2 separate regions of the Homo sapiens genome follow, and region 2 is linked to region 1. The links are contacts of gene promoters, found by promoter capture Hi-C in blood cells and fetal thymus (Javierre and others, 2016). All regions are on one chromosome and are shown on one strand. The core of a region is centred on a gene start or on the middle of the fragment in contact, and the rest is flanking DNA. Distances in the headings are between cores, read along the strand shown.

Evidence for each region. The method cuts DNA at HindIII sites, captures the fragments that hold promoters and counts their contacts. A CHiCAGO score of 5 or more calls a contact.
Region 2: a contact is called between a fragment that was not itself captured here and the fragment with the promoter of SYF2 in region 1, in 1 of 17 cell types (monocytes). The highest score is 5.1, in monocytes.

Annotation. Positions count from the first base shown.
Region 1 is chr1:25,229,177-25,234,429 of GRCh38, reverse strand. SYF2 (SYF2 pre-mRNA splicing factor) reads left to right here and starts at 1,928. Exons shown (of 7, transcript NM_015484.5): 1 at 1,928-1,986; 2 at 2,219-2,326. The coding sequence starts at 1,963. It overlaps LOC124903881 (a long non-coding RNA gene), which reads right to left and starts at 1,841. Exons shown (of 2, transcript XR_007065555.1): 1 at 1,751-1,841. RefSeq lists enhancers at 1,471-1,720, 905-1,818, 1,961-2,110. The HindIII fragment of the contact is 32,676 bases long and covers 1-5,253 here.
Region 2 is chr1:24,846,078-24,851,330 of GRCh38, reverse strand. No RefSeq gene overlaps it. Among named protein-coding and RNA genes, the nearest start is that of MIR6731, 71 kb to the left of the region's middle. RefSeq lists silencers at 2,534-2,753, 2,844-3,043 and an enhancer at 3,158-3,882. The HindIII fragment of the contact is 8,180 bases long and covers 1-5,253 here.

The sequences.
Region 1 (5,253 bases), core at 679-3,178:
CGTGATCTGCCCGCCTCGGCCTCCCAAAGTACTGAGATTACAGGCATGAGCCACTGCACCTGGCCTACTTTTTCATTTCTGTATCTAACTAGTAGTTGTTAGTGCAGAAAAAAATAATTTTCATATATTCCTCTTATATCCAGCACCTTACTTATCTTAGTAACTTTAGCACTGTTAGTAATTCTGGCATTGCCTCTCTGCTGAGCATGTAAGAGTAAACAAGATGGGTGGACTCTGCTGTTCTCCAGTAATAACGCTGATGAGAAAAATAGAAAATCAACAGACAAAAATAAAACTTATGCAATTGGAGAGAATTAAAATAGTGTCAAATGACAGTACTAAAAGTGAGACAGGGTAGTCAGGGAAGACCTGCTTCTATTTTTAAAAATTTATTTTTATGGCCAGGCACAGTGGCTCATGCCTGTAATCCCGGCACTTTGGGAGGCTGAGGTGGGCAGATCATGAGGTCAGGAGTTCGAGACCAGCCTGGCCAACATGGTGAAACCCTATCTCTACTAAAAATACAAAAATTAGCTGGGCATGGTGGCAGGCACCCGTAATCCCAGCTACTCGGGAAGCTGAGGCAGGAGAATCGTCTGAACCCGGGAGCCGGACGTTGCAGTAAGCCGAGATCGGTGCCACTGCACTCCAGCCTGGGTGATAGTGCAAGACTCTGTCTCAAAACAAAAAAACAAAAAAAAATTACTTTTATTTTTTAATTTAGAGACTGATTCTTACTTTGTTGTCCAGGCTGGTCTTGAACTCCTGGGCTCAAGCAATCCTCCCGCCTCCGCCCCGCAATGTGCTGGGATTGCAGCCATGAACCACCACACCAGGCCAAGGGCAAGACCTGCTTCTTGGAGAAAGTGACAACACCTTAAGCTCTAAATGGAAAGAACTTTCCACTCATGGGAATGAATGGCACTGCAGGTTTTTCCTGCTTACTGCAGACAAAACCAATTCACTGAAAAGTGCTACTGCAGTATACAGTTGTATTAACCTGAGGCTGGCCTCAGGGAAGAAGGGTTACCACTCAAGTAAGTTTTCCTGAAGGGTCAGCTCAGAGGTTAGGGTATTTCATAGTTTGGTGTGGGCAGGGCACTAGGGAATGGATGCTGCTGATTGGTTGGAGATGCAATCACAGGGGTGTGGACTACACTCCTCAACAGCTGAGTCCGCCTCTTGGGGGAGGAGTGGGACAGAAGAAGCGGTTGGGTCATGGGTCACGAGTCTGGGTGGGGTCAGTTAGTTGCCAGAATGCGAAAGTCTGAAAAATGCCTCAAAAGACCAATCTTAGGTGCTACGATAACGTTATCTACAGGAATAATTGGGGAAGTTACACATCCGATGTCCTCCGAAACAATGGCTGGTTATCGTTTACTACATTTTAGCAGAATTCTCCCCTCATAATCCTAACCTCCCGGTCTTTCATTAGTTTTATAAAGGCAGTTTCAGCCCCCAAACAAGGAGGGGCCCTGTTTAAGGAAGGGACTATGATCATCCTTGCTTAAAAGTTAAACTATAAATTCTCCCATGGTTAGCTTGGTTTATGCCCAGGAATGAGCGAAGACAGCCGGCCTGCGAGGCTAGAAGCAAGATGGAGTGAGCCATGTTAGATTTCTCTCACTGTCTTTGCAAAGGCGGTTTCCAGGAACAGCGTGCAGAATAGGGGGCTATCAGGCTCCTTTTGGTCATTTCTTCCTAGCCGTCCGATTCTGAGCTCTTCCCAACCCTTTTCTTGGCGACTTACCTCCCGCTGTCCTGGCCCACGCTACTTTTCGCGGCTGCGCAAGACCCTACGCAATCCAAAATATTTCATAGCTAAAAGGGTCCCAACTTCCGGAGACCTCCCGGAAGGGGCGGGGCTTATGGTAGCCCATTCGTACGTATCGGCCCGTTTGTCTGAAGGTTGACGGAAGTGCTCTATCTTGTTGCCGGAAGTGGGAAGAGAGAAAGGTTGTGATGGCGGCTATAGCTGCATCCGAGGTGAGTTCCACCCACCGTACACCGGGGGTTTTGTTGGTGAGGGTTCCGGGGAGCGGCCTGGAGAGAGGTGGAGGCGAAGTCTAGTTTCGCTTCAGGGAGGCTCAGACACTGTGGGGTCAAGTCGGCGGTGGAGGCCCTAGGCCCAGCCTGTGGGGACCGGCGGGGACTCGGCCTGGGCAGTCCTGGGAGAAGCTGAGCCGGCTCTGCCTGAAGCCAGTTCTCCTTGTCGCAGGTGCTGGTGGACAGCGCGGAGGAGGGGTCCCTCGCTGCGGCGGCGGAGCTGGCCGCTCAGAAGCGCGAACAGAGACTGCGCAAATTCCGGGAGCTGCACCTGATGCGGGTGAGTAGTCTTGGAGGCCGGCTTAGATCCGTCATCTGGCCAAGCCTGTGCGCTTTTGTAGAGGGGACGAGGAAGCCACACCACTGCGTCTGACAGACCAACAGAGCAGGATCATCTGAGAGGAAAGCTCTGTTCGGTGGTACTCAACCCTGGCAGCACATTGGGATCATTCTGAGAACATTTGAAAATATAACTGTTCACTCCAGCCCCTCTCCCACCCACATCCAATTTAATGTATCTGGGTTAGGTTTGGGAGTCTCCATTACTAACAACCTCCCTGCTCCGTGATTCCAACAAATTCTTCATTTTACCTAGGGAAATATGTAGAGCTAGAGACAGGAAGAAACTTGTCTAGTGTCAGTAAGAGACCTGGTTCACTTTAAAAAATAATAATCTTCTGTCAGAATCTGTTTGAGTGAAAAGAAAATAATCATCTGTTTTTGGGACTTCTGGGGGAAAAGAATAAAAAGAAAATAAAAAAAATGGCAAACTTTTGAAAGTCTACAGTGTGGTAGTTCAGCCAGTTGATAGGGAATCTGATGTTTAAGTGCCCTGGAGGTGCAGAGGAGGAGAGAGGAATGCAGTTTGTGGGTCTCCAGGGGGTGCCTCATGTAGTAGGTGACACCTAAACTACTGTTTGAAAGCCAGACAACTAAAGGAGTTAGAGAAAGAGATATCCAAGCAAAGGGAACAAATTCAAAGAAAGAGAATTTGTATTAGGGATAAGAGTCCAGCAAATAGCTTGCTGCAGTTGGAGCAGAGAAAGAGAAAAGCAGCCCCTGTTTCACCATGGAGTGACCTGACAGCTAGGCCATGGTTTCACAAAATCCCAAAATCACTCTGACTGTTGTAGTGAGACAAAACAAAGAAGACTTTTCAAATTACAAGAATGACCACATATTTCTTTCTTCTGACTAACACCAGTGACTGTTATTAACAAATACAGCATTAGTCTCACTCCGTTACTTCTGCCTCCTATATAAAAATGTAAGATACTGGGCCGGGTGCGGTGGCTCACGCCTGTAATCCCAGCACTTTGGGAGGCCGAGGAGGGCGGATCACAAGGTCAGGAGATCAAGACCATCCTGGCTAACACGGTGAAACCCCGTCTCTACTAAAAATAGAAAAAATTAGCCGGGCGTGCTGGCGGGCTACACGGGAGGCTGAGGCAGGAGAATGGCATGAGCCCGAGAGTCGGAGCTTACAGTGAGTCGAGATCACACCACTGCACTCCAGCCTGGGCGACAGAGCGAGACTCCATCTCAAAAAAAAAAAAAAAAAAAATCTAAGATACCTAATTGTAGAAAGCCCCTGCTTTCTGACAGTACCCAATCCACATCCTTAACCCTCCCCTCAGTCACCTGATACAAACCCAAATCCTGGAACAAGCCCTTCCTAACACCCTGTCACTCAAATGCCCACGGTTCCCCGTGGTTTGCTCTCTTCTGTGCAACAGACTCAACTTTGTTGACCGTAGGTATGTTCTTGGCGTCTTTAATTGCAGGGCTTTTCCAGGGCCAAGAATATACTAGGGATGGTAGTTGGGAGGAGTATCTCTCTTTGCCGAGGGAAAGTTAATCTAATAAACAATTAAAAAGACATGCTTAAATATTTAGAGTGATTGTGTAAGGAACACATGTCTGGAAATTAGGAGGCGGGGCTTCCTGGACAAACTGCCACCAGCTTATGACCTAAGGAATGTCTAACTCAAGTTTTCCTTAAGACGATACACTCATTTTGCTTTATGCAATTAAGTTTATTTAAAAATAGACTCTTCTCCCTGCTACCCCAGCTCCAAAAAAAAAAAAAGACTCTTCAATGATACTTCAAATGGAAAATTCCTTTCATTTTTCATTTGTCAATGCAAACTGTGAAAATATTTAAAAGGAGGGGAACTTGGAAAGCATTAGAGGCATTAAGATAGGTTTTAAATCCTCTAACCCAAATTGAGGCTTTTTTCTTGAATTAGGATTAAAAGATAATTGAGGCCTGGTGTGGTGGCACATGCCTGTAATCCCAGCACTTTGGGAGGTCCAGGCGGGCAGATCACTTGAGGCCAGGAGTTTGAGACCAGCCTGGCCAAACTGCAAAACCACGTTTCTACCAAAAATACAAAAAAATAAGCCAGGCATTGTGGCACACGCTTGTAACCCCAGCTACTCGGGAGGCTGAGGCATGAGAATTGTTTGAACCCCAGAGGCGAAAGTTGAAATGAGCTGAGATGGCTCCACTGTACTCCAGCTTGGGTGACAGAGTGAGACTCTGTCTCAAAAAAAAAAAAGAAAGAGTGTCTTTCACATCATGTGACGTAATTTTTTTTTTTTTTTTTGAGATGGAGTCTCGCTCTGTCACCCAGGCTGTAGTGCAGTAGTGCAATCTCAGCTGACTGCAACCTCTGCCTCCTGGGTTCAAGTGAATCTCCTGCCTCAGCCTCCCGAGTAGCTAGGATTACAGGTGTGCACCACCATGCCTCGCTAATTTTTGTATTTTTAGTAGAGACGGGGTTTCACCATGTTGGCCAGCCTGGTCTTGAACTTCTGACCTCAGGTGATCCACCTGCCTCAGCCTCCCAAAGTGCTAGGATTACAAGCGTGATCCACTGCACCTGGCCAATTTAATAGTAATGCCAAATAAAGTCTACTTAAGTGCCACTATAGTATGGTCTCCAATACTGCAAAACCTTGTTCTGATCCAATAAAAAGGGACCACACAACTCAATAGAGGCAAAGCTGATTTTAACCTCCAGGGCTCTGGAACAGCAAACCAGTGCAACTCAACACATTTTTCTTGACTGCATAAAAACGTAGACCCTATTAGGCTATTCCCTGGCTTAAAATCCTGTGATGGCTCTCTATTGCTTTTAGGATAAAATGGGGTCAGCTTATTAATATGTCCTGCCTGACCCTCCTCAAAGAAGGCAAGGTGTA
Region 2 (5,253 bases), core at 1,827-4,326, 380 kb after region 1:
TTTGTAATAGAAATTAAGCTCTAAAATTCATAAAGGAAAAAAAAATCCTCGCCAAATGGGCTGGAAAACACACTATAAATAGTCGTCTCTGGGTGGTAAATTTGGGGGAAATTTGCGTATGTGTTTCTTTACCGTTTTCTGTACTTTCCAAAACTTGTACGATGAGCAGAATTGCTTTGATAATCACTTAAACAATTCAAAACCTGTACAAAAAAAAAAAAAAAATTCCTCCCTGATACCCTTTTGATTTTCCTAGTGAAAAGTTCCCTTTATGAATCTTCATAAAGTAGGTTCAATACGTTTTTGTGAATGGATGAATAAATAGTACTTTTAGTCTCTTGAGAATCGTTTCTCACCTTCTGCTTTTATGGCCCAGTTATTTGTGTTCATGTCTTTTCTCCCTTGTGATCCTGGAAGCCTCTTAAAGGCAGAAATCACGTGTCTTCATTAATTCACATCCAGCCAGGGCCTTGCACCCGGGAGGCATTCAACAGTATTATTTTTTAATGAATAGAGCATGCCATATAGTTAAGTGCGTGTGTTTTAACATTAGATAAATATATTTTTAAACATGAGATCAACATTCTGGTTGCCAAGGATTATTTGTTAAGCCCATTCCTTAGGAAGTCAGAGAACTCCCTGAAAGCCGACGAGGGGATAAAGATGTCATTCTAGTAGCAACTCTGTCCCAGCCTGGTTGCCATCATATGTTTTTGCTAAACACACTGTCTGGTCCAAGGAGCCCCCATTCTGCAACCAACAGAGCCTTGGGTGAGTCACTCATCCTTAGCTCTTTCTTCAATGAGACGAGGGTCCTGGAATATTTCCAGCTTGATGTCATCAAGGTTTCTAAAAAATCTGATAATGCAAGCTGGCTTAGAATTTCAAGTTGAAAGGTAACTTTAGAACACTGCAGATTGAACAACAAAAAATCTCTATTGATAATCAAATCAATACTGTGCACCAGTGATTTGGGCTTCACTTTATGTACATTTTTTAAATTTATTTACATTTTCTGACCAAAAATCAATAAATAGTAAGGGGCAAACTCATGATGCTGGCATAAACCATAGAATTCTTGGAGGATCTGTAAAGATTAGCAGCAATTCCGCAGTAAATTATTTAAGAGATGAGATTAAATCTTTTTTCTTTCTTTCTTTTTTTTTTTGGAGACAGAGTCTCACTCTGTGGTCCAGGCTGAAGCACAGTGAACCTAGTTCACTCCAGCCTTGACCTCTTGAGCTCAAGCGATCCTCCCACTTCAGCCTCCCAAGCAGCTGAGACTACAGTCATGAGCCTCCGTGTCCAGCCTTTAAATCATTTTTTAAAAGCATGTCTACGAAGGAAGGGAATGGAGAGGGCCCTGGGCTTTTCTTCTCTTGCCCCTTCCTTGATTGGAAAACCTCCATTCAGCCACGTGAGAATGAGTCTGCTGGCTTACAGTGACCTCTGCAGACGGCAGGGAGTTGCGTGAACATCTCTGAGCCAAGGAAGGGGAGAGGCCCCTTTTGCCCTCCCTGACCCCTCAAAGTCCCCCCTGCCAAGCAGGACCCTTTTACCCAGAAATGTGGTGCCAATGCACTTGGTGCGTGGTATTGGAACCATTTGGTTCTGCTTGCATTGCGCTCATTAGGCTCCTAAACTTCCTGCTGGAAAAGGCCACTTGGGGTGGCACGTGCCTGTAGTGCCAGCTACTCAGGAGGCTGAGGCAGGAGGATTGCTTGACACTGTTTCTTAAAAAATTAAAGAGAGAGAGAGAGAAGGAGGAGGAGGAGGAGGAGGAGGAGGAGGAGAAGAGGAGGAGGCGGAGAGGAGGAATACACTTGGGTAGCTGGGGAGCTCTGGACAGTTCCACAGCTGGGCTAAGAAATCAGCTTCCCTGAAGGTCACAGTGAGCCAAGATTGCACCACTGCAGTCCAGTCTGGGCAATGGGAGTGAAAGCCTATGAAAAGAAAATAAAAAATAAAAGAGAAAGAGAGAGAGAAAGGAGGGAAGGAGGGAGGGAGGGGGGAGGGGAAAAGAGGGGGGAAGAGGGGAGAAGAGAAGAGAGAAGAGGAGAAGAGGAAAAAAAATCAGCCTCCTCGAGTCTCCTTAAACCCTGCACAGGGGAGGTGACAGCAACCAACCCAGTGCGATGTTAAGCTCTGGAGCCAGATGACCTCTATCAGTTCCTGGTGTGATCTTGGGCAAATTATTTAACCTCTCTAGGTTTAAGTTTCTTTATATAAAACAATGGGGACAAGAATAGTCCCTCCTCTAATAGACTTGAGAATATGAAGAGACTTGAAACATTTTAAAAACTTTAGCACAATAACTGGTACATCGAGTTTAATGACAATTATTATCTGACTGAGGAAATTAGAGAAAGGAAGCACAGGAAGAAACTGAGGTTTATCTATTTCTTATAAGAAATTGGATCAGAAATGTGTCACTGGCTTCCCCAAAGGATGTCCCGAGGCCGTCCCTCCCCGTGGATGGGTGCCGCTTCTTCTGGCGGGGAAGTGAGGCCCGTCCGAGTCAGCAGAGCGGGGACCGCCCCGCCTGGAACCGTGGCCCCTTTTCCTAGTGCCCAGGTGGCCCCTCCCGCGGTCGGCGCTCCGGCCTGTGCCGGGCGTCCAGGAGGGCTCGCTCGGGCTCCCGTGCGCGCTCTCAGAAGCAGGGAACTGGCGCCTGGCGCGGCGGCGGGGACGCTCTCGAGTCCCCAGGCAGTGATCGGGGGCCCCCGGGGGAAGGACGCCGCTCGGGGCCAACCGCAGCGGAGCCCTCGCCCTGCCGCGACCCAACCGCCGCCCAGCCCTGTGGTTCGCGGGCGAAGCGCTTCCTCTAGCTGCCGGTGGCCGGCCGAGAACCAGGGACATGCAGAAGTGCCAGCGTCGAGGCCCACGTGCGACCTGACCTCGCGTGGACATTGGCTGGCTCCGTCACACCCAGACCGCTGGCACTTCCCACCCCACCCCACCTAGGGTGTGAGCGGGTCCCTGCCCTGCCCCGCCGGGGGAGGCGCGGAGGTGTCGGTTCGCAGCGGCGCCGGGGAGCGTCCGTTCGACACAGGAAGGAGGGAAGGAGGCCGGAGGCGCCTTCGCAGCGCGCAGCAGCCCTGACAGATCTGATAAAGAGGAAGGAAGCCGACAACGCTGCTGATCGGGTCTGGCAGCTCCCCAAACTGACGAGGTCCTGCAGCTGTCCCAGCCCTGCTTGCAGAAGTGGCGCCGAAAGGAGGGGAACCGCGGCCCCTGCTGGCCACTTCGGAACCGCACCCGAGTGGTGACAGGAAAGCGAGCAGGGGCTTTAGGGACAAGGCCGGCTGATGCCTCTCGCAGCAGGAGGTGGGGGATGCAGGGCCCCTCTGGGCCCGAGACCTCTACCTCCTGCTTGGTGCGAGAGACCTGCCCCTCAGGACAAACCAACCAAACGTGCTCTTGGCCGGGCGCGGTGGCTCACGCCTGAAATCCCAACAGTTTCGGAGGCTACGACAGGAGGATTGCTTGAGGCCAGGGGCTTGACACCAGCCTGGGCAACAGAGCTAGAATCCTGTCTCTATTTTTATTTATTTATTTTTTTAAAGAATCTATATGTTCCAGCTGGACCTCTGCTTACCTGGCAACCAACTACCTTAGTTGTCAGGGGCCAGGGAGCCAAGTCCACTCTTTTAAGGAGGAAAACAGACACACTTTTAAAGATTGCTGAGCACTATCTGCATATTGCTATATTGCCTAGCTTTGACTGTCATTTACTAGCTGTGGGATTTTGAGCAAGTTTCTTTTCTTATTTAGAGACAGGATCTTGCTCTGTTGCCCAGGCTGGAGTGCAATGGCACAATCATAGTTCACTGCAACCTCGAACTCCTGGGCTCAAGCGATCCTCCTGCCCCAGCCACCCATGTAGCTAGGACCAGAGGCTCTCACAACCTTAATTTTTTTTTTTTTGTAGAGACAGGGTCCTGCTATGTTTCCCAGGCTCTTGAGCAAGTTTCTTAACCTCCACATGCCTCAGTTTCCTCACCCATAAAATGGGAATAATAGTCTCTATCTCATAGGATTGTTAAAGAGACTAAGTTAATATACGTAAAGTGTTTAGAACAGTTCCTGGTGTATAATAAATATGTGTGTTAAATTTAAAACTTTAGATTTTCAGGCAGGATGTGGTGGCTCACGCCTGTAATCCCAGCACTGTGGGAGGCCAAGGCAGGTGGATCACTTGAGGTCAGGAGTTCGAGACCAACCTGGCCAACAGGTTACAATTTTTGTATTTGTAAAAATACAAAAATTAGCCGGGCATGGTGGAGGGCGCCTGTAATCCCAGCAACTAAGGAGGCTGAGGCAGGAAAATCACTTGGACCTGGGAGGCAGAGGCTGCAGTGAGCCAAGATCATGCCACTGCACTCCAGCTTGGGCAGTAGAGTGAGACTCTGTCAAAAAAAAAAAAAAATTCATCATGGGTTGTAGGCTACTGTAAGTAGTTCCTTATTCTGGGGATTTTCTTGGTATCTTTCAACTATTGACTTCTAGTTTAATTCCACTGTGGTCAGAAAACGTATTTTGTATTTCATTCCTTTGAAATTTGTTGAGGCTTGTTTTATGGCTCGGCATAGGGTCTGTTTCACTAAAAGTTCCACATATACCTGAAAAGAATGTACATTCTGCAGTTGTTGGATATAGCATGCCATATGCATCCATTAGGTCAAGTGGTTGTGTTATTCTCTCTTCTGCTATTCCTATGTGTGTACGTATGTGCACACGCACGTGTTTTCCTCCTTGTTCTATCAGTTACTGAGAGCTATGTTAAGAATCTCCAATTATGAGGATGAATTTGACCTCATAATTGCAGACATTTCTCTTTGAGTCAATTTTTATTTAAAGGTGTTATTAGATACACAGAAATGCAGGACTGTTAACATTTTCATAGTGAATGTTCATGATTATCAATGTCCTATATTGTAAAACATCCTTTTTCATCTCCAGTAACACTTCTTGCCTCAAAACCTACTTTGTATGATAGGCACATCTTCTTTCTTTTTATTTACTGTGTCAATGAATTAACTATTCCATTCTTTAATTTCACCCTTCTGGGCCCATATATTTGTCTCTTGTAAATAGCATATATTGGGTTTTGATTTTTTATCCAGTTTGACACTTAACATTGTTCAGCCCATTTACATTTCATAAATTTACTAACAGTGTTGGATTTACAGTTAACCTTTTGCTATTTTTCCAATTTGTCCTATGTTTTGTTCATTTGATCCCCTTGTCCTT